2 separate regions of the Homo sapiens genome follow, and region 2 is linked to region 1. The links are contacts of gene promoters, found by promoter capture Hi-C in blood cells and fetal thymus (Javierre and others, 2016). All regions are on one chromosome and are shown on one strand. The core of a region is centred on a gene start or on the middle of the fragment in contact, and the rest is flanking DNA. Distances in the headings are between cores, read along the strand shown.

Evidence for each region. Contacts are between HindIII fragments. The CHiCAGO score rates a contact against its expected background, and 5 or more counts as called.
Region 2: a fragment that was not itself captured here is called in contact with the fragment with the promoter of CD99 in region 1 in 1 of 17 cell types (neutrophils); the score reaches 5.2 in neutrophils.

The regions. Positions count from the first base shown.
Region 1 is chrX:2,689,764-2,692,771 of GRCh38, reverse strand. CD99 (CD99 molecule (Xg blood group)) reads right to left here and starts at 1,477. Exons shown (of 10, transcript NM_002414.5): 1 at 1,345-1,477. The coding sequence starts at 1,411. The HindIII fragment of the contact is 9,076 bases long and covers 1-3,008 here.
Region 2 is chrX:1,768,173-1,771,180 of GRCh38, reverse strand. It overlaps LOC105379413 (a long non-coding RNA gene), which reads right to left and starts at 128. Exons shown (of 3, transcript XR_001755773.2): 1 at 1-128. The HindIII fragment of the contact is 8,292 bases long and covers 1-3,008 here.

The DNA of each region.
Region 1 (3,008 bases), core at 228-2,727:
AAGTGAAAAACCCGTTCATCTGCAGGTGCCTGGGGAACAAATGCAGCTGATAAAACCCTACAGAGCCATCCCGTCCGTGGTGACAGGTTGCCCGCAAGAAGGACATTTAGGAAGAAAAGGGAGAAACAGGAAGCTCTGCTTGGAACCTCCCCTGCAGGCTGGAAAGTCCTCCAAGTTTTCCTCTACGGAGCAGGCTTCATTATCTCTAATCTCTACCAAGTGAAAGCACAATTTCTAGGATACCCGGGACCCCTTTAAAGAGGGTGTAAATCCATTAGCAACTCCTCCCTAAAAATAGAGACCCGGCCTAGTCACCGCAGCTCTAGGCTGAGCTAGATCCTATCAACACAAATCGGGCCTCCTCCGTCCTCCCCAGGGCCGGGCGTTCCCGCGTCTCCTTCCTAAATACGTCCAGCCCTGATAAGGCCCGTCCTGAAGTCCACACTGCCCGCAAGCCGGTCTACTTAAAAGCCTGCCCATACGAAGAGCAAAAAATGCACTGACCATTGAAAAAAGAATTTATAACATGAAAAAAGAATTTATAACATACCACATCCGGCAGGGTCTCCGTTTCCGTTTCAAAGGGAGGGAAACAGAAAAACATGATTAAAGTAATAATTAGAAATAGGCCCGGTTTAGGGCGTGGGAGGGTGACCGTGGCTCTTTCTTCCCTGCCCACTTTTTCTGTTTTCCGAATTCTCCACCGCCGCAGATGGACAATTTGGTAAGCACACGTTTCTTTCTGCGCCCCGTGTTGCTTGGCGCACAGCACGCGCTGAAATTCCCGGAGCCCGCATCCACAGAGTATTTTTGAACATTTTCAGGGCTCAAAGTTTTTTTCTAACTTTTCCTTCCCTTCCCCCCACCACCCGGGTCTCAGGCTCCTAGCGATTCCAAATTTAGGCCCGGGACGCAGGGCGTGGCTGTGACAGGCAACTCCAGGGCGGCCTCCGCGCGCGGCCTGAAGACGCAGGTCCCCAAACCCTGGGGGTAGATAACGGGGTGGGGTGAGGGGCTCATGCAAAGGGAGAGAGATCTGTAAGAAGGTCCCCTAGATTGGGAAAAATCGGACGCACCTCTCCCAAGGCCGCCCCACATGTAAGAGTTTGCAACTCCGACAACAAACGCTGACTTTTCTCTCTGGAACGGCTCCAGGAAAAGCGTTGGGGAGAAAGTGGGCGCCTCCTCCGGGCCTGGGCCCCCGTGGGCACAGCGCGTCCTGCCGGGCAGGGAGGAGGCTCCGGGTGTCCCCGCGGGGCGCCCCCAACGCCGCATCTCAAGCGGATCCCCAGTCCCGGCCCGCGCCCTCCGCGTCCCCCAACCCGGATCCCTCCGCTCGCTCACCCGGGGCGGCGACCAGAACACCCAGCAGGCCGAAGAGCAGCAGCGCCAGCGCAGCCCCGCGGGCCATGGTGCGCCCAGAGCGCGCAGGGACGGTCCCGGAGTGCAGGGCGTGGGCGAAGGCGGCAGGACAGATACTCCCCCACGGGCCGGGTGGGGCGAAGCCCGGGGACTCGAAGGGGGCGGGTGAGGGGAGCGGCCCTGCAAGCTCAGCGCCGGCTGCGCCCGCCCCGCCCCGGCCTCCACGCGCGCACAGAAGGGGCGGGAACGCCGGGCCCGGGGAGGAGACAGAGGGGGTAGGCGGGCGGGGGTGGCCCAGGCAGCGCCGAGGGGAGTACGGTACACGCCCCGCCCCTTCTCAGGAAACTGCCCACGCCCCCTCACCCACCCACAGGGCCGTAGCCAGGGCGGCGCCGACCCGAAGCAAAGTGAACTACAACGTTCTCGGGAAAGTGCGGGTCCCTCCCGGTTTACAGCCCTCTGAATGCACGCCCGAGGGCGGCCCTTAACTGTAGTGGCACAAAACTGCCGCCCTTCTTGGAAACATAGAGCCCCCTCTCCCCACTCGCCCCTGCAGCCACTTCTCCGCCCCTCACCCCCTGGTCTCCAGTGGGAGCAAAAAAACAAACTTTCCCAGCAGCTCCCCTGCTCGGGAAAGTGCGGGTCCCTCCCTGTCTACAGCCTCCTAAATGCACGCCTGCAACTGTAGCGACACGAAACTGCCGCCCTTCTTGGAAACGTGTAGCCCCCCTCCCCACTCGCCCCTGCAGCCCCTTCTCCGCCCCTAGCAGGGACCCTCCCCTGCTCTGCAGTGGGAGCAGAGGAAACTCCCGGCTCCCCTGCTGGGAAAAGTATGGGGGCCCCTCCCCGCTGCTCACCTCAGGGAGTTCCCCAAGGGGAGCAAAGTGCAATCCTCTCCCTGCTCAGGAAGCCTAGGCCCCCGCTCCACAGGCAACCCCCGTCCCAAGTCCTTTCTAGAGCGTCCGAGCGCGGGGTGCGCAGCCGGGAGGGTGGCGGACGAACCCTTTGCGCCGGACCAAGGACAACCCTTGGAGTAGCCTCTGCGCTGGGGCAGTTTCTCCCCAGAATCCCCAGGACAAGGTTGGGAGTGGGGACTCCTGGTCACGGGAGTTAGTGAGGGGCAATAGGGAACGAGGTGCCTTCTATCTGGGGCACCTGGGCCCTAGTCCTGGTCATGGGCGACTCGCCTTCCAGTGGGCTTTGAGTTTAGACACCCTCCCGCGCCACTGGCCACAGCTGCAGTGCAGTTGTCGCCCTTCCCACACTTAACAATGTTATCTGTTAACACCTAAGCCTAAAATTGTATCCATTTTCCCGCAGGGTAGTGGAACAACTTTGCAGCCTGACAAATAACCCTGAATATTCTTGCATTCCACACTTCAAACTGTCCACGAAAAGAGTCAAACTAGGCCGGGCGCGGTGGCTCACGCCTGGAATCCCAGCGCTTTGGGAGACCGAGGCGGGTGGATCACCTGAGGTCAGGAATTGGAGACCAGCCTGACCAACAAGGTGAAACCCTGTCTCTTCTAAAATACAAAATTAGACGCGTGTGGTGGTGTGCACCTGTAGTCCCAGCTACTCAGGAGGCCGAGGCAAGAGAATCGCTTGAACCGGGGAGATGGAGGTTGCAGTGAGCCAAGATCAGG
Region 2 (3,008 bases), core at 351-2,850, 920 kb after region 1:
TATCATCTTTTCAATGTTCCTATGCAATTTGAAAGGTAGCAAGGGGTTGAAAGATTCCTCAATCCCAGCACTTTGGGAGTCTGAGGTGGGCAGATCACAAGGTCAGGAGATCGAGACCATCCTAGACAAGATGGTGAAACCCCATGTCTACTAAAAATACAAAAAAAAAAAAAAAAAAAAAAAATCAGCCGGCCGTGGTGGCATGCGCCTGTAGTCCCTGCTACTTGGGAGGCTGAGACAGGAGAATTGCTTGAATCTGAGAGACGGATGTTGCAGTGAGCCGAGATCGTGCCACTGAACTCCCAGCCTGGTGACAGAGCAAGACTCTGTCTCAAAGAAAAAAAAAAAGAAAGAGAGATTCCTCTCTGTGGGTATTCTATGCTTAATTCTCTCTTCTTCCAAGAGCACTAAAAACACAAGGAAGGTCATAGGAGAAACAGGCCACATCTCAGCACCCCAAAATCGATCCCACAGTTAGAGGGCATGCATTAGGATTCAGATGCTGTTGTAGAAAAATACCAACAACTGCGTGGCTTGAAACAGCAGACGTCTGTTCTCTCGAACTTCTGGAGGCCAACAGCTGAGATCAAGGTATCAGTAGGCTTGGTTCCTTCTGGAGGCTCAGAGGAGACATCAGGAAACTTACAAACATGGCAGAAGGCAAAGTGAGAACAAGTGTCTTACCTAGCCAGAGCAGGAGGAAGAGAGAAGACAGAAAAAGTGTTACACAGTTTTAAACAACCAGATCTCATGAGAACTCGGTTACTGTAGTACCAAGGGGGTAATGGTGCGAAACCATTCATGAAAACCATTCACGAGAACTCTGCCCCCGTCATCCAATCACCTTTCACCAGCCCCCCTGCTCATATCAATTATATGGTTGGCTCTGTGTCCCCACCCAAATCTCATCAGGAATTGTAATCTCACCCAAATCGGGAGAGATCCATTATACGTAATTGAAGTCACAATTGATATACACAACTAAAGTCTTAGTAGAAAGAAGAGCTCCACAAAAAAGACAGTTTTTTGAACTGGGGTCTTGTGTCTTCTCTGGCCGTAACTGGAGGTGGGATTGATGGAAGAGGATCATGCGTGAGGCGTTACTGACAGCTTTGAAGTTTTACATGTGGGTATGGGAAGCGGTTAATTCAGCATGCCTGGCGATATAGTTTGCATCTGTGCCCCCACCCAAATCTCATGTCAAATCCCCAGGTGTACAAGGAGGGAACTGGTGGGAGGTGACTGGATCAGGGAGGCAGTTTCCCCCATGCTGTTCTCATGATAGTGAGTGAATGCTCATGAGATATGATTTTGTTTTCTTTTTTTTTTGTTTTTTGTTTTTGAGATGGAGTTTCACTATTGTTGCCCAGGCTGGAGTGCAATGGCATGATCTTGGCTCACTGCAACCTCCGCCTCCCGGGTTCAAGCAATTCTCCTGCCTCAGCCTCCCAAGTAGCTGGGATTACAGGCATGAGCCACTGTGCCTGGCTAATTTTGTATTTTTAGTAGAGACAGTGTTTCTCCATGTAAGTCAGGTTGGTCTTGAACTCCTGACCTCAGGTGACCCACCCGCCTCAGCCTCCCAAAGGGCTGGGATTGCAGGCATGGGCCACCACGTGCCGGCCGATCTCATGATTTTATAAGTGTTTAGCTATTCCCCCCTCACTCTCTGTCTCTCCTACCAGCTTGTGAAGAAGTGCTTGCTTCCCCTTTGACTTCTGCCATGACTGTAAGTTTCCTGAGACTTTCCCAGCTATGTGGAAGTGTGAGTTGATTCAACCTCTTTCCTTAATAAATTACTCAGTCTCAGGTACTCAGGTATTTCTTATAGCAGCAAGAAATACCTGAGTCTCAGGTACTCAGGTATTTCTTATAGCAGCATAAAAACAGACAAACACATTTGGTTCATAGATGTGTCAGTCCAACCTCTGTCTCCATCTTCTCCTTTGTGTGTTCTCTTTTTTTCTTACAAGGGCTCCAGTCATTGGATTTAGGGCCCACTCTATTCCAGTGCAACCTCATCTTAACGACGTCCACGAAGACTTTATTTCCAAATAAGTTTCCCTTCTGAGGTTCTGGTGGACATAAACTTTGCAGAGACATACTTCAGCCCACTGCAGAAGACTTTTAAAAAAAAGGGTGGGGGAGGGGGGCTGGGCACAGTGGCTCACGCCTGTAGTCCCAGCACTTTGGGAGGCCAAGGAGGGTGGATCATGAGATCAAGAGATCCAGACCATCCTAGCCTACATTGTGAAACCCCGTCTCTACTAAAAATACAAAAATTAGCCGGGCGTGGTGGTGCACACCTGTAGTCTCAGCTACTTGGGAGGCTGAGGCAGGAGCATCACTTGAACCCGGTAGGCAGAGGTTGCAGTGAGCCAAGATCATGCCACTTCACTGCAGCCTGGGCGACAGAGCAAGAATCCATCTCAAAAAATAAAATAAAATAATAAAAATAGAAAATTTAGCCAGGTGTGGTGGTAAGCATCTGCAGTCAGGCCTATTTGGGAGGCTGAGATGGGAGGATTGCTTCAGGCTGGGGGCCAAGCCTACAGTGAGCCATGATGGCCCCACTGCACTACAGCCTGGGCCACAGAGACCCCACCTCTAGAGAGAAAGAGAGAGAGAATCTCCTTCATTTCAGCAGCATTGATATTGGTGGATGCGACACTCCAGGTGAAATAGGTCCCATTCTTTTCCTCCTTCCACTTCACTGCAGCCTGGGCCACAGACTGAGACCCCATCTCTAAAAATAAAAATAAACAAATAACAAATAAATGAATAGGCTGGGCGTGGTGGCTCACACCTATAATCCCAGCACTTTGGGAGGCCGAGGCAGGCAGATCACCTGCGGTCAGAAGTTTAAGACCAGCCTGGCCAACATGGAAAAACCCCACCTCTACTAAAAAAATGCAAAAATTAGCCGGATGTAGTGACTGCGTGCCTGTTATCCCAGCTACTTGGGAGGCTGAGGCAGGAGGGTCACTTGAACCCAGGAGGCAGAGGTT